Linked DNA regions of Homo sapiens: regions 1, 2 and 4 are each linked to region 3. Evidence: promoter capture Hi-C in 16 types of primary human blood cells and fetal thymus (Javierre and others, 2016). All regions are on one chromosome and are shown on one strand. Each heading gives the region's core, a stretch centred on a gene start or on the middle of the fragment in contact. The rest is flanking DNA. Distances are from core to core; before and after follow the strand shown.

Region 1 (5,152 bases), core at 2,497-4,996, 1.1 Mb after region 3:
GCCAGGTAGATAAACTGGGAGCTCGGGCTGAAGTGTAAGACTTCAGAAAGATGTTCCATACGTGAATGTTCATTTAAACGTGGGGGTGTTAAGCAACACACGTGACCCAGAGACATTTCACCTGGAAACCGGAGTAGGGCCCACGCACCAAGTCCCTGATGTTTAATTGCAGTCTAGAATGTTACTGACTAGTTCACTCAATTTAACAAAGTGTCCGGAGGTCGCTCACTGGATTGTTATGCTGGTGACTGGGCCTTGTTTCACTGAGAAAAAAAGATGGGAAAGGGTGACAGGACGGTGAGAAAGTGAAAGGGAGAGAGGTGGGAAAGGGGTCTGCCAAGGTCCAGGCGAGGTTGGGGGTCGGGGGTCCGGCGGCCCTCAGGGCCCCCCCCGCCCCCAACTCCGGGGTTGGCGCCTCGGGCGCGGCGCGTGTGCTTGCGGGCGGGGCGCCCCGCGGCCGCGGACGGCCAATCCGGGAGGGCGTCCGGGGAGGGGCGGGGCTTGCCGGCTCGGGCTCCGCGAGTCCTCCTTTTTGCACACACACGAATACAAAGAGCCATACGACCTTCGGGTATCCTTTTTCCATTTTTTTTCCTCCTTAATCTTGTGTGTGTTTTCAAATTTTTTAAAAATAGAGATCTGTAGCAGTGTTGGGGTGAGGAAACTGTTGCTAAGGGGAATTTGCTCTTTCCCCCATTTCTTTTTCTGTCTCTCTTCCTCTTTCTTTTTCCTGGTCAAGGTTTTAAATATACCAAGAAGTTGAGAAGCAGGATGGCCGTGTACAACCGTTTCCGGCCAAATTTATAGTTTTTTTTTCTTTTTTTTAAATCACATTTTAAGAACTGGTAGATTTTTGTGGTTGAGGGACTTTAAAAATTTAGCCGCTTGGGAAGTACAGAATTTTTTAAGCGGGCTGAAGGGATAATGTAAATTTCTGCCACAGGCAACATCGAAGGAAGCAGAGAGATTTGAGGCTCCCTCATAAAGCCGTTTGCGTGCTTTTTACACACCCACCCCCCCAGAACCAAAACCAAGTGGCTGGGATGTGGCACTTGTCCAAGGCCAATAAGTTAATATTGGGATATTATAATGGAGACATTCATTTCCCTAGGGAAGGGGGAAAGACCTTAATTACAGTGTGTCTTTCACACACATTTTCATTAGAACATTTGTGTGTGTGTGTGTGTGTTTCTTGAAACAAATTTGTAAAGTTATAACTTGGGGTTATTTGTGTATATGTACAATATGTGTGTATATGTGCCATATCAGATTTTATTTTCAAAAGTGATAAATATATCTGGTTTTATGTGTGCAAAGTATCCCCTAGGATGTGAATTTTTTTCCGTTGTCTTCCCAAATGTGATCAAAATATTTTGTGTGCAAAGCAGAGCTTAGAAGAAATCCTATGCTTAGCATACTTAGGCACTTTCTATGTGCATTTACTATATTTTTCTGCTCCTAAAGGATCAGAATAATGAATAATTAAATAATTGCCAAGGAGTATATAGTCCATGTGGCAAATGAGAGTAGGCAATTTATTGAATCTGTGGTTCAAAGCCTTCAGTGACTGTTTTGCCTAAGTGGTTTTGCTTTTTATTGTCTCACGTTCTTAAGTGTACAGCTGTGTATATTTTGGCCTTTATGTGTGGTTTGGTTGGTGTGTTCAGAAGGGAAGTTCTTTCTTGGCTTTTTGACAAAATGGTCGTTTATTGGTTGGAATATTCGAAAAGCTCCACAGCTGGCAAAGTATCAGGAAAAAAATCCAGTCAAGTGTAATTCTCAAAAACTGTTCATGGTGATGGTGATGGGGAGCCAAGAGGATGCAAAGGCAAATAATAGAAGGGATAAGAAATGCCTTTTGGTTATCATGTTGCATTTTTAGAATGGAAAGCTTCTCATTTCTAAGAGTCACAGAAAAAAGTATATGAATTAGAGAAAAACAGGCTCGCAGAGCAGAACCTCCTGTTATAGGAGCCCTATTTTCACTTCATTCTGTTACAGAATCACTATCTCCTCATTAGAAGTTGTATGGAAAATATCTGTATCCAAATTTGTATTCGCAGATTGGAGTGAAAGCATAGGAGGTATATGAGGTGCTGAGGGAGAAACTGGAATGTCACAAATGCAGTGACAACCAGGAGACAAAAAAAAAAATCTACTGTAGAATTTAAATTTCATTACAACAAAACTTCTGTATAATAATGCATTTCTATTACACAGCTAGCATCCTACTCTATTTCAAGCAGTATTTGACTCCTAAATACTGACTGCAATAAAGTTACTTGTACAAATTTATAACAAAAGTGGCCCTGTTTGGGCTTTCTGGGTTTCTTACTTGTGCTGAGTGTATTTTTATTCTCTAACAATTCAAGTCAGACCAGTGCTTAATAAATACTGGCTCGACTGTGGATTATTCCACAATTTCAGACCTGCATTTCTTTGAAATCTAGTCACATTTTAGTGATCTTTGTGATCACAACAGTGATGGGAGTTTTTTTTTTTTTTTTTTTTTTTTTTGAAACGGAGTTTCGCTCTTGTTGCCCAGGCTGCAGTGGCAATGGTGCGATCTTGGCTCACTGCAACCTTCGCCTCCTGGGTTCAAGCGATTCTCCTGTCTCGGCCTCCCGAGTAGCTGGGATTACAGGCATGTGCCACCATGCCGGGCTGATTTTTGTATTTTTAGTAGAGACGGGGTTTCACCATGTTGGTCAGGCTGGTCTCCAACTCCTGACTTTAGGTGATCCGCCCGCCTCTGCCTCTCAAAGTGCTGGGATTACAGGCGTGAGCCACCGCGCCCGGCCAGTTACGGGAATTTTTAATGGAGTTTTACCCTTTTTAGCTCTTTTCCACATCACTACAGGTCATCACATATACTTTTTACCTTACTTTTTAGCGTCTCAAAAAATAGGGAGAGCTCTCCCTGAACAGTGCAGAGCCCGTATCCCTGATTTCCTAGGCTATTTGATTTCTACATCCAGGAACGTAGGGTCATATCCACTGTTCTTGCTTTTTCTTCCTAAGAAAGGAGAGAATTCCTCGCACATATATATCGTTGGCTTGGCCTTCCAAAGCAAAGCAAAACTAAACTCTGTTGATTTTGCCTGGGAATCCTCGGGGCCCCTAGTATTGGAAACTTCTTTGAACTGTGAGGAGCTGCTAATTTGCAGGTGACATGTGAAAGAAATGTAACCGAGGCCAGCAGTAACTAAAAGTCGGCCACCACCCAACGTGTGACGCCGATTTGTGGCCACTGTGCTTATAATCGTGTACACACAGGTTTGTGAGCAGCAGAGAACAAAAGCAAGTAAACAAAAACAAGCTAAAGATGGCGTCTGACGGCCTTGAAAAAGCCTCACAGTCTTGTCCCTCCCTGAGGAGGCCCCTCCCCTACCTGACTTTTTGAGTGACTGTTGTTTGCAGCCAATAGTGTCCGTGACCCTGCTCCCCAGCCATCGTCTAACCGCCAATCACCGGGAGCCAGAAGGCAAACGGGGCGGTGTCTCCCCGCGTGCGCGCGGTAGCCGGGTACACGGGCAGGCGCCGCGGATAGTTCTGTCTCCCGCGCGCCCGCCTCCGCCTCTGCCTAGCTGAGTCAGCCCGTGCGGTAGCGCCAGGCACACGCGGTAGAACATCTGTAGGGCTGCAAAGCTGCACCTCCGCGTCAGTTCTCACGGCGAGCGCCGCCTTCAGCCCAAGTTCTCAAAGCTCTCGGGGCTACGTAGTCTACCCTCCCCGGTGACCCGGCGAGATCCCTAGCCGCTCCTCCGGCCGCTCTGCTCTCCGCATCCCTCGCGGGAATGACCCCCTTTACCCGGGACTCCCAGAGCGCACTGTATGGTAGGGCACAGTGGCGAGTCACCCTGTCCCCTGAGGCCTCTTGAGCAGTCGCCGATCTCTGCTTCCCGCGTCGCTGCGATCGCCTTTCCCGTAGCTGAATCACACTGACCCATCGGAAACGGTTCTGCCCTCCCTGGGGTCCACCTTGTCATCCTTGACTAATATTTAATCAACTAACATTTACCAAGTTCTCGCTGGCACGAGTTCTAGGAGCTACTTTTTCATTTTTCAGTTTCTCCATAAATGCAGTGGGTCCTTTAGGCAAACCTGAAATCGGAAATATTAATCTTACCAATGTAATCTTAGCAAATGTAAATAAAAAGGACTGTGCTATACTGGGCTAAAAATTCTCATCCTGCTATAGAAATATACGTGGAATTTTCAGATTACGTGGAATCCTTTAAAGACCGCATTCGGCCTTCTGGGTCTACAGCTCTCTTTTTTACCCCTAAAAATAAGGTCTTGGATTTTTTGCAGACCATTAGTCGAGTCACTCTTTTAAAATGTGGGAAAATAGTATTTTGTGGTATTTACTTAGCTGCTCTTGTGTGATAAGGAGCTCATTTCTGATAAAAATAGGTTTTGAGAGAACCTTTTGACAGGTGAGCCATTTTGCACCTTGAAGTGGAGGAGTAGGACTGACCAACACAGCAGGAGCTTTAAGTGGCCGTTTTCCTTATTTATTTCTTAAAATGAAGATTATGATATGAATTGCCATGCTTTCAGTAATCACATTTAAGGAAGTCTATTGCTAGCATGACCCTGAATGAGTCAAGCACCCATTATAAAAACATATATCATCTGAGTGATACCATATCATACACATCTATTAAATAGTGAGAAAACTTTTATTTTTCATAGTTTGGAGGTGAACTCAGTCATGCAGAAAATTCAAACTCAGAATGGGGAGAAAGCAAGCAAGGGAACTGCCAAGAGTATGATATATTTAGTCCTAACAAAAATGTGACTTGGGAGGAAAGGGATAGTTAAAATTATGGACAGTCTTACCCTGAACTGTCTGTCTAAAGGAGATGAATTGTCTTTCTTTTTTATCTAAATATTTATGAAAAATACCAAAAGTACTGGAAAGTACATTTTTAAGGCTCGTTTCACATTTATTTAAATTAGACCAATACTGAAATGAACCCCAAATGCTTATATTTTTTGCAAACCTAAGTGTGACATCTACTGTCATGTTGTGTTGGCAACGCATCCCAAGATTGAAGATCTTTTTCTCTTTTTTAGACCTAGTCAGTTGTTTTCAGGACTTTCTACTTAAACATGTTGCCATCATTTGAAATTTAAAATGTTAAAT
Region 2 (5,192 bases), core at 308-2,807, 1.0 Mb after region 3:
CCCAGTTACAGGCAGAGGAGAAAGGGACTCTGGAGTCATCACCTGGATTCCAAGTATTGGGTGGTGTTATTGCTGCAGCTTGCCACTGGTGGACATAGGGTCCTGCCTGCCTCTCACGATAAAAGGCAAGGATCATTCCTGCTACTCACAGGCCATCTCATCAGGGACTGCAAGATGATGTCCCTTCAGGGCCAGGACTGATGTCTCTGCCCCTTTCCCCCCTCTATCCCTCGCTGAGCCTGGCCACCGCCAGTGAACTGTCTTGACATCATGGAAACTGGGCAGCGTCCCCCCACACGTTTCCCTCCCGCCCCCCCTGCGCCCCTGGGAGGACTCTGGCAGTGCCGTGCTGACTACCACGCCGTGCGCCCACCTTTTTTGCCAACCCAACCCCCCACCAATTGCACAGCGCCTAGCAGGGAGGGCTCATTCTGATTGGACCGGCGGTTGACTAGATACAGTACACAGTGAGGTGCGATTGGCTGAACTGAAGATCCCAGGTGTGAGATGGTACCTGGAACATTTGTCATATTCCTAGTTTATTTTCTTCTTTATTTTCTTCTTCTTTTTTTAATATTTTATTTTATTTTTTTCTATATCTTTATTTTTTCTGATTTCTTTTATTTATTTATTTGGTTCATGTTTTTCCTGTTTTAATTAAGACCTTTTTTTTTGTTTTGTTTTTCTCACTAACTTACCCATCGAGAGCGGCCCAGCTAGGGGTCAGGCTGGCCCTTAACAGAGACCAAGGAGACTTGGTTAGACGACACAAACGGGGCTGCGGGTGGGGGTGGATGGGAAAGGGATTTCATCACGAGGTTTCTGCCCTACCCTTTAGAAGAGTGGTAGAGTGGTCTTAGTTTTTCCAGAAATAAGCACCTACACTTGAAAATACTCTATTCCCTTTTTCTCTCTCACTTTTCTCCCCCGCCCCCCATAGTCTTTCGTCATTCACCCACTGAGTGTTTGGGGTAGAGACTTGTCCCAAAGATGTCTTCTGGTCTTTGGCAGAGCCCCTAAGGCTTGAGCCCTGGTTGGAGAGGAAACAGTAAGACTCTGCTGGAGCTCCCTGCGGTGGCTGGAAAGTCTAAGGATCTCCTTGGGGACAATCTGCCCTTCATAAAAACCTTCCTTTATCAAAGACACCTTTGAGTTCTTTTTGCTAGCACTTGGCTCAAGAGCCTCATCTCCAGTGGGTCTGGTGCTGCCCTTTTCCACAGTGTGGTGGGGGTCTGGGCAGTCTTGACATGACAGTCTGCTGTCCAAGCATCTCAAAGCCATTGTCAGTGGGCATCAGTCTGGCCATTGAAGAAAGGAGGGTTACCTTGTTGAAGTTGCCATCCAAAGTTGGTTTTCCTTGTTTCCTCGAGTTAGCAAGGAAGGACCTGGGAGGACTAGATGACCCAGTTTGGGGCACAGTTTGTTTGGCTTGGTGTCCTCTCGACTCAGACGGTGAAAGAGGGGGTATGACCAACATCTTTAGGGGGCTGAGAGGCTACTGAACTCCTCTTCCAGCTTATTTCTGGTTAAGCTAATACACAGGTGTGATACGGAGTAGATGACTTTTCCCTGCTCTGATGTTTAGTTTTATTTTTTTCTCTAACTTGCATTGATTCTGCTTCGTTTTTGCCGTTTGCCGCTTCTGTTTTGGTCTCTGTCTGTCTCTGTGTCTCTCTCTGTCTCTCTCTCTCACTCTATCTGTGTCTTTGGAGGCTAAGCTAAGACTGCCCCATCTAACCTCCTTCCCCCCTCTCTGTGGGGTGTCTCTCTTTCTCTTTTTTTTCCCCTTTTTCTTCTTCATACAGAGCTCGCTGCCCAAATCATTCAAGAGGAAGATCTCCGTTGTCTGTAAGTCCAGCCCCAAATCCCTGATAAAAGTCAGGAATACCATAAAAACCAGCATTCATTGAGAACCAGAATTTCATTCTCAATGGCATTCTTGGGTCACTCCCTCCTGCCCCACCCCTTGTGCCTAGCAAATCTGAATCCTTTCCTATGTAGGGTTTCATTTTGGAATTCAAAACTTGAGACAATCCCCATCATATTGCTCCAGTCACATTTTAATGAGATACAGTGTGAGGTGTCTGAGACCATGTCCCATTTAGCCTTAGAGGCATTTATTCTTTCAGATACCTGAATACTCAACAAGGAATGAGTTTCAGGGACTCCTATGTGATGCTTAGCAGTTTATGAATTATTCTGGGTATTTTGTTGTTGTTTTTTTGAGACGGAGTCTCCCTCTGTAGTACCCTAGGCTGGAGTGCAGTGGTGCGATTTTGGCTCACTGCAACCTCCGCCTCCGGGTCCCAGTTCAAGCAATCCTCCTCCGCCTCCTGAGTAGCTGGGATTAGAGGCATGCGCCACCATGCCCAGCTAATTTTTGTATTTTTAGTAGAGATGGGGTTTCCCCATGTTGGACAGGCTGGTCTTGAACTCCTGACCTTGTGATCCGCCTGCCTTGGCCTCCCAAAGTGTTGGGATTACAGGCGTGAGCCATCGTGCCTGACCTTGTTTATGCGTTATTCTAAGAGAGCACCCAAGGAAATGAAAGTGCCCCACACCTCAAACAGTAACAATTTTAACATTTTCCCCAATGAGGAACTCTAGATTACAAAAGTATAATAGATGTTTATAACTTAAATATCAATCTGTAGTGTGAAAATTAAAGGAAGACCAGATCCCATCATGATCTTAGTTCTGCCTAGATGTTAGTATCACATAGTGTTCTTGTTTCTTCTGCATTTACATGTCCTTCTCAGTTTTTCTTCCACACTACTTGATATTACTGTCTACCATTAAAAGTTTAAACGGCTCATCAAACTAGCTACCCCTCCCTTACTGCTTTTAGATCAGTGTTCAGTCTGAAGCCATGGTTTCCCCAGTTCCCAAATATGATTTCTTTTCTTTTTTTTTTTTTGAGACGGAGTCTTGCTCTGTCACCAGGCTGGAGTGCAGTCAGTGGCACCATCTTGGCTCACTGCAGCCTCCGCCTCCCGGGTTCAAGCAATTCTGCTTCAGCACCCTGAGTAGCTGGGATTACAGGCATGCACCACAACGCCTGGCTAATTTTTGTATTTTTAGTAGAGATGGGGTTTCACCATGTTGGTCAGGCTAGTCTCAAACTCCTGACCTCGTGATCCACCCGCCTTGGCCTCCCAAAGTGCTGGGATTACAGGTGTGAGCCACCACACTCAGCCTCCAAATATGATTTCTTTAAGTTAACCTTTTACCAAAACTCCAGCCAGAGGTAACCTGTAGGTATTACGGTTTGAACTAGCAGAGGTCCTGAGACCATCTAACTGTTGGGTCTATTTCTTGGGGACAGCAGCTACCAAGGGGGTGCCAGCTGGAAACAGTGACACAGAGGGGGGCCAGCCTGGTCGGAAACGACGCTGGGGAGCCAGCACAGCCACCACACAGAAGAAACCTTCCATCAGTATCACCACTGAATCACTAAAGGTGAGGTGGGAGGAGCCAGGGAAGGGAGGATGAGACCTGTTAAGGTGGGAGTAGACATGGGCCCAGTGTAACGGGGTGGGGGGTATCTGTGTCCCAGAGCCTCATCCCCGACATCAAACCCCTGGCGGGGCAGGAGGCTGTTGTGGATCTTCATGCTGATGACTCTCGCATCTCTGAGGATGAGACAGAGCGTAATGGCGATGATGGGACCCATGACAAGGGGCTGAAAATATGCCGGACAGTCACTCAGGTAAGGCTTCTGCACCCCAGTGTCAGGGGAAAGGTGGGAGCAGTAGATGCAGAGCAGCTAGCTGAGGAGCTGAGATAAAGTCTTTGGAGGGAACTTCCCTGTCTGTGCAGAGGGTTGGGTTGACTGACACTTTCAGGGGTCAGACTACCAAATCCAGCTGGCTACCTGTTACAAATAAAGTTTGATTGGAACACAACCACACGAGTTCATTCACTTTTGTCTGTGGCTGTTTGTTCACTACAACATCACCAGAGTTGAGTAGTTGCAACAAACTATGTGGCCTGCAAAACCTGAAGTACTGCTTTGCTCTACAGAAAAAATTTACTAACTCCTGTCTTAGTTTTCCTCAAGGCAAAGTTGAGGCACTAACAATCCCAGGATCTGGTAGAAGTGAGCCGATAACGAAATACCCCTAGCGGAAGGAACATGCTAGATTGACTGCTACTCTTACCGGGGAACCAGAGGCTGAAAAGAATATGCCAGTTTGGTGTTTAACAGACCTGCTGTGTTCTCTGACACCTTGATAGGTAGTACCTGCAGAGGGCCAGGAGAATGGGCAGAGGGAAGAAGAGGAAGAAGAGAAGGAACCTGAAGCAGAACCTCCTGTACCTCCCCAGGTGTCAGTAGAGGTGGCCTTGCCCCCACCTGCAGAGCATGAAGTAAAGAAAGGTGAGTGACATATTGTGAGAGAAATGTAATGCGGCTCCCTGAATTCTCAGAGCACCTCATTTGGATCGCTGAAAGCTTTGAATGTTTCCTGCCTTTCATTATATTTTTTCGTATATCATATCTTTCTCCTACATATTAAGTAAGCTACTTGAGGGCCAGATTTGACTCTGTTTAATCTTTGAATCTCCATGATGAGGAGGTTAGCCTAGCACAGTACTTTGCAGATTATAGGTGCTCTGCACGTTTAGATTAAGGAGTGGCTGCTTGGTATAAAAGAAAGGGAACCGTGAGAGTTACATTGAGGGTGAAAAGAGCCAGTATTGCTTCCTACCAAAAGCTGTTCTTGTGGTCTTCTTGATAGTGACTTTAGGAGATACCTTAACTCGACGTTCCATTAGCCAGCAGAAGTCCGGAGTTTCCATTACCATTGATGACCCAGTCCGAACTGCCCAGGTGCCCTCCCCACCCCGGGGCAAGATTAGCAACATTGTCCATATCTCCAATTTGGTAAGTCATTGTTTCTCACCATCCCAGCTTGCTTAGTGGTTAAGTTTGAGCTTTAGGCTTATGCCTCCTAGGTTCCACTCATAGTTGAACTGGTCTACCAATAGATTAAGTTACTCACTGATCTTGAGTGAGTTACTTAACATATTTACCCATCTAAAAATGAGGGGGAAAAGCTGTTGCCCTGCAGGGTTGTTTTGAGGACTTGCAGAAGGCCTCACATACAACGTCTCAATTAGTGCTGGGAAGCACCACCACTCTTCTCACATTCTTACTGCAAGGTTCCTAAACTCTCTGCCCTCCCCCAAAC
Region 3 (5,680 bases), core at 3,057-5,556:
TCTGACAACGGTTGTAAGGCACATCCCCAGGGGAAAAAAGAAGTCTGGCTAACATGCACCATAATGCAGATGCTCAGTGAGAACCCAGAAATCATCCTGCAACCATCTATTTTACCCAGTCCTCTGGCTGACAAGATGGTGCTTCCCTCCCAGGAATGCACACAGACCCACCAGTATACTTTTTCCCCTAAACAGAACTTCCAACTCAAGAGGTTTGCTCCCAAAGAGCTTCCCTTGAGAAGTTTCTGATGAGTCTGACCAGAAAGGGAAGCCAGTACCTGAGATCCAGGGCAGTGTGTGTATCTCCCTCACCATAGATATTGCAGATATGAACTAAGAGAAGCAAGAAAAACAAGAATCTTTCAGGGATGGGGGAAGAAGAGTGGAAGTGAAGCTAGGGAAGAGATCAAACAGGGGACAAGGGTACTGGAGCACTTTGGGAGTGATTTTCCCAGGACAAAGTGAGGGATCCTGGCTCAGAGGGGACAGGCACATGGAAACCTCAGGTCCCAGGCTGGAGAGTCAGTGGAAGCCTGGTGCATACTCACTGTAATCAGACCAGCTAGAGTAGAGGAAGTGGTTCCCATCAGGGGTGAAGGCCACATCCAAGACGCTCCAGCCTACGTCGCGGGCCTTGATGCTCTTGAATTTACGGAAACGGCCATATCGGCAGTCATAGAGTCGGATTGTCTGGTCTGTGTAAGTAAAGATCAGGCAGAATTATGGGACAGTTTCCTTGTAACTTTTCTAGATTAGACATCTCCCACTCAGTGTACCTGTGGAGTCTTCCCTTTATCATGGGAAACATGGTCTGGCTAAGCATCCTTAAGCCAGGTCTGAGCTCCCCGTCTGTGGCTTTCTAGCCTCAGTCAGGGGGAATGTCCCATGTTCCAGGAAAAGATAGTTTATAGGACCAGGGTCTGGTACCTTGGCAAGCAGACATGAATATTTGACCATCTTTGCTGTAGATGCCACAGAAAGCCTTCTGAGAGTAGCTATCAGTGAAGCCCAGATCATTGGGCAAGAAGCTAGGGAAGGAGAGAGAAAGTGAGGGTGAGGGGTGCTCAGGATAAGGAGTGTCCCAATCAGCAGAATCCTAACAGAGCTGGAATATCAGAACAGTCATTCTTCCCTTTTGGCTGTGAGTGCAATCCCGTCTTTCAACCATTCCACCATCCTCTAAATTTCTACAATTTTCTACACTTTTCTACTTTGTTTACTCTCAAAGTTTCAACCCCATTTAACCTAACCTTTAATATCTCTGAGGCTCCTTTAACACCTACCCCTTCAAAGTTTAGGAGATAAGACCTATCTGGCCCTTAGAGTCTCTTCACCAAGCCCCATACTCACTGAGATATCACTCGAGACTGTTCTCCAAGGGAGAAGCTTCCCCGATGGCAGAGGCCCCGTTCTCTCTAAATGGAAGGGATTGGGGAATATTGCTAGCAGAAATAGAGGGCCACTTCAGCCATATCAAGCCCCCTCCTCCAAAGATATTGCTCTTGTTATAGAAATGGACACACACATCATAGTCTGTCCCACAGAACTCCGATGGAGGCTGGTTAACTCTCCAGCCCCAGCGCTTGAGGCTTCTACTTTGGAAAGTTGACTTCCTTTTTCTCTGGGGCTGGCAGAGCTTCTGGCTGCTTTGGCAGGCCTGCTGCCAGGCTGGGAGGTGGAGAGGCCTACCTGGTGCAACATTCGAGGAAAGCTGTGCTTCTGGGCGGCCCGCCTAAGCCCCAGCTGCCCTGTGGCCAGTTCCACTTGTGTCTTGATCTCATTGAATTCCAGCTCCCGGGTGTCAGGGGTAGCATCCACTGTGAGTACCAAGGAGAAGTTTCATCCTAGGTCTGCCAGCCTCAGAGGACAGTTAGCAGAACTGTACCCAAGCCCACCCCTGTGGCTGAATATACTGGGGCTGTAAGGACTCCTTATTCCTTAAATTATCGTACCTTCTTTCAATGTAACCTATCATTCAAAATATCACTAAAAGGTTTTCTAGTAAAAGTCTTCCAACATTAGGGGCTTTTCCTCTTACCAGGTGGGTTGTATCGATCCCCAAGACGACCATCCCAAGCTCTGTCATTCTCTTCCTCTGAGTCCAAGAGGGCCTGAATGAATTGTAAATTTGCTGCACCTCCTCCCTGCACCAACCTCACTTGGCCTCTGTGGAGAGACCCCCATTATAAAGGAGGGGACTTCTTCCCCCAAACCAACCAAATTCAGAGTCAATGGCTATCTAGCTCTTAGACCACTTGGTACTCATTTTGAGGTTTGAGGCTGACTAGACCTTGGCTGTTATTTTTGGTCTCCTATAAAACACAGTAGGAAAGAGAGTTTTACTCTTACAGCAAGAGCAAGACCAACATGCTGTGGACGTGACCTACTAAGTTGACCTCCCAGCGAGCTAAACATTCTAACATCATTTCCTTAGAACAAGAGCAAGACCAATACGCTGTGGACATGACCTACTAAGTTGACCTCCCAACAAGCTAAACATCCTCACAGCATTTCCTTCTGAGCCTCTGCCTGAGAAGTCCACCACAGAAGACAATATTCTAAGCTGGGTGCGGTGGTGTGTGCAACTGTAGTCTTAGCTACCTGGGAGGCAAGGATTGCTTGAGCCCAGGAGTTGCAGGCTGTGGTGTGCACTTGATCACACCTGTGAATAGCCCGTTCTCCAGACTGGGGAACACAGTGAGCCCTGTCTATGTCTACTAAAAACAACACAAAACACAAACAAAAAAGAATACAATATTCTGAAGGGACCCCCAAACCCATCTTCTCCTCAAAGAGCCATAAGCAAAGAAAGAAAGCCAGCTGCACCCTTTTCCAGTCAATTCCAGGTGGTCTCTCCCTTCAAGGCATTCTTTCCTCAAGAACAGGTTAGAGTCAGGGCAAATTAAACTTGTTTTTCAAGTAAATCGAAGTGGCCTCATATCATGTGTCAACTGCCTTACTAAAAAGTTCAACACTCCCTTCCCATCTCTTCACCCCTTACATCACTCCTTTCCCACTAGGACCCCCCCCTTTTTTTTTTCAAGCTTACTTGGAAAATAGACTATATTTGTGTAGTCACAGAGACAGGCTCCCTTGAATAGCCCCTCAAACACATGAGCAGGTCCTCTTGGTGACCCTCCCTAGGTAAGAACCACTCTTACTGGGTATGGAGCTGAGTGCCATGGGTGCCCAGCAGGGAAAGGCTGTTCAGCTCAAACAGAACAGCTGTCCTGAGCGAATCCCATTTCCTAACCTCTGTAATTTTCCTGCCTGGAGTTGGGATCAAGGCACTGTGGTAGCACCTGCTGGGGGTCACACCAGAGGGTAAGTTACCTGCGGAGGAGATAGGCCAGTACCTGGGCCAGATCCACATCTTCATCCTCTTCTTCCTCTTCCTCACTCCGACGCAGGCCAGCCCCTCTTCGGGGCAAGCCCTCGGAGGGGTCTCCGGACCCGGATCCTGCACTGCTGCTGTTCCGCGATCCCATCTTCTGGTCACAGCATTCTTAGGTCCTGTGCGGGGGCTCCTCCTGTCACCTCCTTGGGTTTGGTGAAAGCAAAGCGTGCTCTAGAAATACCAGGGTCTCCTGAGACGGGGTAGTAGCTATCTCTAGGAGGGTGACCCTTCCTCGGGGCTGAGATCCCTTTTCTTTAGCCTATGCCAACTACCAAGGCGTCGGGAACACAAACCTTCTCCAATCCTGTGAAGCAAAGAAAGCAAGAGTGAACCGTAGTGCGCTACCCTAGCTCACCAACTGAAGAAAGATTTGTTTTCTACACCAAACTCACCTATCGAAGTCCCCGGACTGGGGAGCGGGAGGGGTGTTGGGCGGTGTTGGATTTCCAGGTAACCTCTCTGACCGACCAATCGAAATCCCTCTCGGAAGAAAGCGCTTCACTAGCTTATCTCATCTAACCAATTAGAAGCCTTAGGACTCAAAGACCCTCGACGCCCCCACCTTATCGACCAATCAGAGCGCCCCCTTACAAAGGCCGGCAGCAGTGACAGCCAATGAAAATAGAATTTGGCCTAACACCCCTCCTTCCTCGCCTCACGCCCACGTGGTGCGCCGGGGGTGTGTACGCCATGAGGGGGAGGAAGCCGAGAAGCACCTCCCACTGAAGCCGGCGGTAACCGCCCCACGCGAGACCACCCACCAGCCAGGAGCGGTCGCAGGACCCGCAGCGGCGCGAGGCCTTGTTTACACCGACTGCCGCCACTGCGTTGGCCAACCGCTCCTCCGTCACGCGCTTCGCTCGTCACGCATCTCGCGGCTTCCTGGCCGGCGGGCTGCAAACGTCACACGACGGCCCCGCCCCCTTGGCCAGCCAACTGGACAGCGGAGCACGATGATTGATAGGTAGGCGGGAGAATGCGCGAGGTGCCTGAGGGGAGGAGAAAGTGCACACCCAAGGAGGGCTGTTAGCTCTTGCTGGGGAGGAGTAAGTGGGAACTGCCAGCTTCCTGAATCAGAGACAGCCGAACTAGGCGTAACGGCTGAGAGGCGGGGCTTAAAAAAGAAACGTTTGGTGGTTCGCTACCGAGAGGTATTTTAGCAAGGGATATAATTTACTGTCTGTCCCTAAAGATCATTTGGCATCGCACTTTTCAGACAGTGCCCAAGGGCCTCCTTTCTCCCCACTGCTTCCCCTGTCCAGCTGGAGCCGTTCTTCTGTCGCTGGCCGCAGCTCCAGTCGGTTCTGCCCTAAGGGGTGCCCAGCGTCCCAGTAGACCTCCATACCGTCCTTCCGGGCTTAGCTTTTGGAAGCCTTGCTCTTGGGACGGTCCCCTTTTAGACCTCCCTTTATCCGGTCTGACAATTTTTTAAGACAATCCCTGGCTTTCCGCCGCGGTCTTTGCAGACGTTCCCTAATACACGCGTCTTTCTGTCAAAGCTTTTCCGGTTCCGCTGTCCCCTTTGACGCTCCCTTGGCCCTCCGGGATTTGCAGACCTTCGCTAGTCCCTCTGTCCTCGCGGTGCCTCTCCGCCCCCGGCCGCGGGTCCAGGGTGCGCGCTCGCCGCCTCCTGCCCCCTCCTGCCCCCTCCTGCGGGTTTATGAGTAACAAGCCTGAGTCCAAGGCCGGGAGTTGCCACATCTCTGATCCTCGCCCTGGCTGGGTGGGGACGTGTGGGTTGAATGACCTTGCTGTCTCGGGCTCAGAGGCTCAGGGTCCGAGCTGAACTTCATTCCCTGCAGCCTGCACTTCCTTGGGAAAGCTGCGAGCTTCCCTCCGCCCGCTCCTGAGGGCAGGGATGGGAGCGAGGGCTCGTGGCCTTCTTGGGCCCTCCTGGGGCCTCTCCCAGTGAGGGCGAGGGTTTGGCCAGCTTTCGGGCGACGTCTCCTAGTCTCTAGATCCGGAGACCTGAGCTTGTCACCAGGGCTAGCTTTGATGGCCTCTGCGCTTAGAAGGGTCCTGAATGTTTGGTTTAATGTTCTAGTGTTAACGGTCTTGAAATTATTAGTAATTTTAAAGCAAGTGCCTGGTATTTTCATCTTGCACTCGGCTCCACTGATTATGTAGGCGGTCTGCTGGGCGCCCATCCTCTATTGCCAGATTACTTACTATCTGTGCTTTAACGTTTATTGAGACTTTAGGATTCCGTGGTTTCTGGGTTATCCAGCCTGGAAAATCGGGATCTTTATTTATTGATTGATTTTACCTGCGTTCTCCCAGAAT
Region 4 (5,877 bases), core at 1,033-3,532, 1.5 Mb after region 3:
ACTGCACTCCAGCCTGGGTGACAAGAGCAAAACTTCATCTCAAAAAAAAAAAAAAAAAAAAGTGAAAAGGCAGGAACGCTGTTGTTCACCTGCTGTTTTAGGAATTTTGCTCACGTACAGTTCAAAATATTAAGAAGCTGAAAATAAAGTACCTGGTCATGTGTGGAAAAACTTACAGCTAAAAGGTGAGATGAACTGGGTCTAGAAGGTCGGATTCACGTGAAATTAAAAGGGCAACGAAAGCCAGAACTTAATTTCTTAAAAAAAGTTAAAACAGGCCGGGTGCAGTGGCTCATGCCTGTAATCCCAGCACTTTGGGAGGCCGAGGCTGGCGGATCACAAGGTCAGGAGTTCGGGACCAGCCTGGCTAACAATGGTGAAACTCCGTCTCTACTGAAAATACAAAAATTAGCCGGGCGTGGTGGCGCGTGCCTGTAGTCCCAGCTACTAGGGAGGCGGAGGTTGCAGTGGGCCGAGATCGCGACACTGCACTCCAGCCTGGCCGACAGAGCAAGGCTCCGTCTCAAAAAAAAAAAAAAAAACAGTTAAAACCCTCAAAATAATCCCACTTGTTAAAATACAAAACCTGAAACCATTTCAGTTTCTTCTGCAAAATGAGTTGGAGAGAGTAGGGTTGAACCAGGCATGCTCTTTCGGGCCTTTCGACGCTGACATCCCGGGATATTACACCAGGTTCAAGATACCAGCTTGCGGAAAGAGAGCTGCTAAACTTGACCATATGCTTTTTGCACGACATTCGACAGCTGTCCCTCCCTTCACCAGCTCTTTTAAGGCTGCAAATATATCTGATTCACGTGAGAGTCCCTACAAGTTAGTACAACGTCAGGCCCCAAGGAGGCGCCCAATAAATGTTGGCATTGCAGGGCCAGATCCCGAGTTCCAGTTCAGAACCCTGCTGAGGTCAGGCTTCCTCCCTGCCTCCCGCCCCTCACCACACCCACTCACTCCCCCAAGTAATTAAGTCTAAACTGGGGCCTGTGCAGTGATTGGCCGCGCCGGGTCTCACTGCGGATGAACTTGACTTGTTCCAATGATCTGTGACAGACATCTGCAGACAGCGCCCTTAACAGAATTAGGGTCAGGCTGGTATCAAACCCCAGGAACGCCAGGCATTGCCTCAAAGTAGATGCAAACCGTTAAATCTTCCAGGACTCAGAAGGACCAGAGAGAGCCGGATACCTCTGGTTAGCTACGCGGTCCCCAGTAAAGCTTATTCCCCTCTTCCTCCCAGTGTGTCTTGTTGCCAGAGCAACTGTGGGCGTCACCGAGCTGACGGGCGGAAACAGAACAGAAAGAGTACACGTCCCCAGCTCATTGATAGGGCCATTGCGCAGACGCATTAACTTTTCTGAGTTGTAGTTGAGTCTGTTGATGCAGTCCGCGTCTGCGCATTAGTTGTTACGCGCCCTGGCCGGCCTCAGCGCCTGCGCAAATTGGCACACCGGGGAGGGCGGAGTTAGGTCACGAGGGTGCGCATGCGCAAACAGCACATCCGGTGTGGTCGACGGGTCCTCCAAGAGTTTGGGGCGCGGACCGGAGTACCTTGCGTGCAGTTATGTCGGCGTCGGTAGTGTCTGTCATTTCGCGGTTCTTAGAAGAGTACTTGAGCTCCACTCCGCAGCGTCTGAAGTTGCTGGACGCGTACCTGCTGTATATACTGCTGACCGGGGCGCTGCAGTTCGGTTACTGTCTCCTCGTGGGGACCTTCCCCTTCAACTCTTTTCTCTCGGGCTTCATCTCTTGTGTGGGGAGTTTCATCCTAGCGGGTAATGGTTCTATAAGTGATCATAATAATAATGTGTTACTTTGGTGTGCTGCTTTTGTTTTCATAGTACTCTATATCAGACCACCGCCCCTTGAAGTTATGAGAAGAGCCTGCATTGCCCTTTTGTTGTGAATGGGGAAATTGAGGCTCAGAAAGCTTAGATTATATGCCTAATACCAAACGGCTCCGTAGGAGTTGGACTTAAAAGTCTAAAGAAACCACCTTCGTGCCGCTACTCCACTTGGTGATCCACTTCACTTAATATTGGTCCGGGGAAAACCCTATTCCAACTTTAACTTAGGTTTAACACAACTCTAAAATTAGTAGACTTTTCAAATGAAAAACCCAACCTTGAATCATCTCTGTCATCTTGGCCTAATCATTACCAATCTCCGGTGAAACGTTTCAATGAAAGTGCAAAGAATATAAATACTGGTGCTTTTCTTGTTGAATCATCCTTTACTTGATTTTGCCTTTTAGCTGCTACTACTTTTTTTCTTGTTGAGGAAGCTGTTATTTCACTGTCCTGAACCCAATTTTTGTTCACATAACTCTATTTTAGCCTTATTTTTCCTTTTGATTCCAGGATTTGGTAACCTTGTAGACTGCTATATTTAGCGAGAACAGTCTCCATCAATTTTTGTTAAAATCTGACTTTTCTTGCCCAACGGGGATTCAGTGAATACTGAAAACAGGCGTGGCCTCTATCACTGGTATCACCTGCTACTTTGACTTTGAAAACATGCCAGCATTCATGGTTTCTTTTCAGTGTGATCATCAGTCAGGTCATCAGTTGTATTTTCAGTCCAATATGAGGCATTATGGTAAAAGCTTTGGCACATGTTCTTTATCCGTAAAGAGTTTATGGTCTAGTTGGGGTACAGACAAAATACAGCATTGGAATTGTCTGGAGGCCTGGCACAGTGGCTCATGCCTGTAATCCCAGTACTTTGGGAGGCCGAGGTAGGCAGATCACTTGAGGTCAGGAGTTCAAGACCAGCCTGGCCAACATGGTGAAACCCCATCTCTACTGAAAATACATAAATTAGCCAGGCATGGTGGCACACACCTGTAATCCCAGCTACTCGGGAGGCTGAGGCAGAATCGCTTGAACCCGGGAGGTGGAGGTTGTAGTGAGCCGAGATCGTGCCATTGCACTTCAGCTTGGGTGAGAGTGAGGCTCAGCCTCAAAAAAAAAAAAAAAAAGTCTGGTGACAGTGGTGCTGTGCTTAAAGTTACAGACCTATAGAATGCTTATTGTACATTTACATTGTTCTGACACACCAGAGATATTTCTTAGAATTTAAAACAGGTCTGAGGATCTAATGACTTGTGTACTGAAGTTGCAGATTAGCCTTTTGATTGGATATTTAGTTACCATCTTTGACTTTTGTCCTAGATGACCAAGACCTAGTTGTCTGTGGTGGCGTCCTTGCCTTCAGGATGTGTTAACCATCATCCGACCAGATACACTACCCCTTTGCTCTAAGTATTCTCCACCACCCACCCACCGCCCTCTGCCACGGTACTATATGTTTTTATTAGCCAGCCCGGAGAAGGAACCTTGATGAGAACTTTTGATTTAATTTTGTTTGATGTTTTTGTTTCCAGGTCTGGAAGAGTAGGAGCAAGGCAGGGTCTGAAAGCTGATTTTAAAAAAGATGCCTTCTCCATGTAGAAGTCACCCTGCCTTCATAAGCCTCTAGGGTCTAGAATGATTTTTCATGGATGCTTTGAAGAATGTGGTTTGCTGAAGAGTGGGCATGGACTAGAGTTATAGATTATCAGTGTAATAAAGCCAGAAGGTTTTTTTGAGCAAATGACTTTCACTTATGCCAAGACCTGTTTTTGAGCCCGTTGTGGCTGAAATTGAATTGGCAGACTGGACTGCCTTTCTCCTCTCCAGTGGGAACTAGGTGGCTTGTCATTGAAGAAAAACCTAGTAAAAGGGCATATTAGTAATGGGGCCAATAAGGGGGATTAGGATTTCCAGATCTGTTAGATAACAGATAATAGAGCTATAGAAATGAAAGCAACTTCAAGAAAAGAAGGGATTCATGATAATTCTTAGTTGCCACAGAAGGGTATGATTTACCCTTCTTTTGACAGCATTGACTTTCCTAAATCCTGCCTCTTCTGCCATTTGTTAGCCTAGATCATCAACTGGAGACTGGTTTTAATGGGAAATTTGGACGCTTATCCTTTGTTTTGATTGTTGGCAAAGGTAGCCTTGTTCCTTTTTATGGTGCTGGGGTTTCTAACTTTCCTGTGGAATTTCCTGTTGCAAGAGAATGGAGGAGTCCAGTGAGCTGGGAGAGGGAAATGTAGGCGATACTGTTGAAGGATTAGGTAGTGCTGGGTGCTAGATGTTTGAATGCCAGGCCAAGGAATTTGGACTTTTTTTGAGATGGAGTTTTGCTCTTTTTTCTCAGGCTGGAGTGCAATGGCGATCTCGGTTCACTGCAACCTCTGTCTCCCAGGTTTAAGCAATTCTCCTGCCTCAGCCTCCGAAGTAGCTGGGATTACAGGCATGTGCCACCACGCCCGGCGAATTTTGTATTTTTAGTGGAGACGGAGTTTCTCCATGTTGGTCAGGCTGGTCTCAAACTCCTGACCTCAGGTGATCCGCCTGCCTCTGCCTCCCAAAGTGCTGGGATTACAGGTGTGAGTCACTGTGCCCGGCCAGGAATTTGGACTTTATCCTGTAGGTAATAGTAAAGCTTCTGAAGATGCTTTTTTTTTTTTTTTGAGACGGAGTCTCACTCTGTCCCCCAGGCTGGAGTGCGCCATCTCGGCTCACTGCAAGCTCCGCCTCCTGCGTTCACGCCATTCTCCTGCCTCAGCCTCCTGAGTAGCTGGGACTGCAGGCGCCTGCCACCACGTCCAGCTAAGTTTTTGTATTTTTAGTGGAGACAGGGTTTCATCGTGTTAGCCAGGATGGTCTTGATCTCCTGACCTCGTGATTCGCCCGCCTCGGCCTCCTAAAGTGTTGGGATTACAGGCGTGAGCCACCACACCCGGCACTGAGGGTGCTTTTTTAAAGAAAGGAAAAGATTTAAAATTGGTGTTAGCATGTAGGATGAATTGGAGGGAAATGTTCTTTAATCTTCTCTATTTTTTTTTGGCAGTCTATTCTCTTCTATTCCCTCTGCATGTGTTAGTTTAGCATATGCTCTTTGGAAATTGACCAGTACATTTTAAACCAATTCAGAACGCTACCAAACCTTTAAAAAACCTGTTGTTATTGGGCCTGATGGTATGAAAATAGTCTGTTTTCTTCTATTCCCTCATAGCTGAGAGACTTAACCATGGTTTCAAGAAGGAACCAGAGGTAGAAAGTTGTCATTGAGAGATCTTTTTTTGTGTGTGTTTTGGATCATCAGAGTATAATATATTGGCTTTAAAAGGACCTCAGAGGTAGAATATTTTTCTATTTGAGACAGATTTCAAACATCCAGTAGCTGACTGTTTATCTTGTAGTTAGATATCTCTAGAAGAGGACATCTGTCCCTTTTTTAGAGTTATATTCCAGTGTTGGCAACCCTTTAGTTTCCTTTTTTGCCCAACTGAAAGCTGTGCTCATTTAAAGTGCTATTTAGGAGGGATAAGTAGAAAACATTAAGACTGTCCTCAAAATAAGTCTTTGGTCTTGAAACAAGTTTTAATTCATTTCCCAACTTTCATCTGTTCTGTTCTCTAATCTATATGAGGTAATTTTGTCTTAAAAAATAGTTTTGTTTTTCCTAGTTTACAAATTCAAAACCAGTTTGAATCTGTAAGGCAAGGAGGCCTAGTCCAGAGTTTTCTGTCTCACGGGAGCTATTAGGCTGTTGTGGACTGGGGTCCAGCATTTCTTTTGGAATTATCCATCAGATCTGTGGATCCTAATATTATCTCTCATAACTGTTATCCGAGAGATTAGAAGTTTGCCACCCATGTGCCTGATAGTCTTGTTTCTAAATATCTTTCATATCATTGCTACTTTTTCATCCTCTGTTTTAGCCTCTCAATATCTCTTATGAAGACTACTGTAATCCTCCTTACTGGCCTTCCGGCCTCTGGTTTCCAGTCCATCTTCTATTGTGTTTGCA

The links. The method cuts DNA at HindIII sites, captures the fragments that hold promoters and counts their contacts. A CHiCAGO score of 5 or more calls a contact.
Region 1: a contact is called between a fragment that was not itself captured here and the fragment with the promoter of DCAF11 in region 3, in 2 of 17 cell types (non-activated CD4 T cells and activated CD4 T cells). The highest score is 7.5, in non-activated CD4 T cells.
Region 2: a fragment that was not itself captured here is called in contact with the fragment with the promoter of DCAF11 in region 3 in 1 of 17 cell types (naive B cells); the score reaches 5.5 in naive B cells.
Region 4: a fragment that was not itself captured here is called in contact with the fragment with the promoter of DCAF11 in region 3 in 1 of 17 cell types (fetal thymus); the score reaches 6.2 in fetal thymus.

Annotation. Positions count from the first base shown.
Region 1 is chr14:23,005,520-23,010,671 of GRCh38, reverse strand. C14orf93 (chromosome 14 open reading frame 93) reads left to right here and starts at 529. Exons shown (of 7, transcript NM_021944.4): 1 at 529-571. LOC124903286 (a long non-coding RNA gene) reads right to left here. Exons shown (of 2, transcript XR_007064075.1): 2 at 1,688-4,104. RefSeq lists silencers at 191-540, 3,452-3,501 and enhancers at 2,168-2,728, 3,662-4,031. The HindIII fragment of the contact is 3,706 bases long and covers 1,894-5,152 here.
Region 2 is chr14:23,062,622-23,067,813 of GRCh38, reverse strand. ACIN1 (apoptotic chromatin condensation inducer 1) reads left to right here. Exons shown (of 19, transcript NM_001386863.1): 10 at 1,806-1,848; 11 at 3,326-3,459; 12 at 3,557-3,709; 13 at 4,237-4,378; 14 at 4,740-4,885. Among named protein-coding and RNA genes, the nearest start is that of CDH24, 7.7 kb to the right of the region's middle. RefSeq lists an enhancer at 4,979-5,192. The HindIII fragment of the contact is 5,796 bases long and covers 1-4,455 here.
Region 3 is chr14:24,113,403-24,119,082 of GRCh38, reverse strand. DCAF11 (DDB1 and CUL4 associated factor 11) reads right to left here and starts at 4,306. Exons shown (of 15, transcript NM_025230.5): 1 at 3,790-4,306; 2 at 3,334-3,701; 3 at 2,039-2,166; 4 at 1,690-1,817; 5 at 1,351-1,415; 6 at 928-1,028; 7 at 549-695; 8 at 279-333. The coding sequence starts at 3,488. It overlaps NRL (neural retina leucine zipper), which reads left to right and starts at 4,134. Exons shown (of 3, transcript NM_001354768.3): 1 at 4,134-4,361. RefSeq lists enhancers at 4,227-4,376, 4,617-4,756, 4,338-5,053. The HindIII fragment of the contact is 1,852 bases long and covers 3,047-4,898 here.
Region 4 is chr14:22,584,857-22,590,733 of GRCh38, reverse strand. It overlaps DAD1 (defender against cell death 1), which reads left to right and starts at 1,510. Exons shown (of 3, transcript NM_001344.4): 1 at 1,510-1,787. The coding sequence starts at 1,577. RefSeq lists enhancers at 1,230-1,871, 1,872-2,513. The HindIII fragment of the contact is 675 bases long and covers 1,945-2,619 here.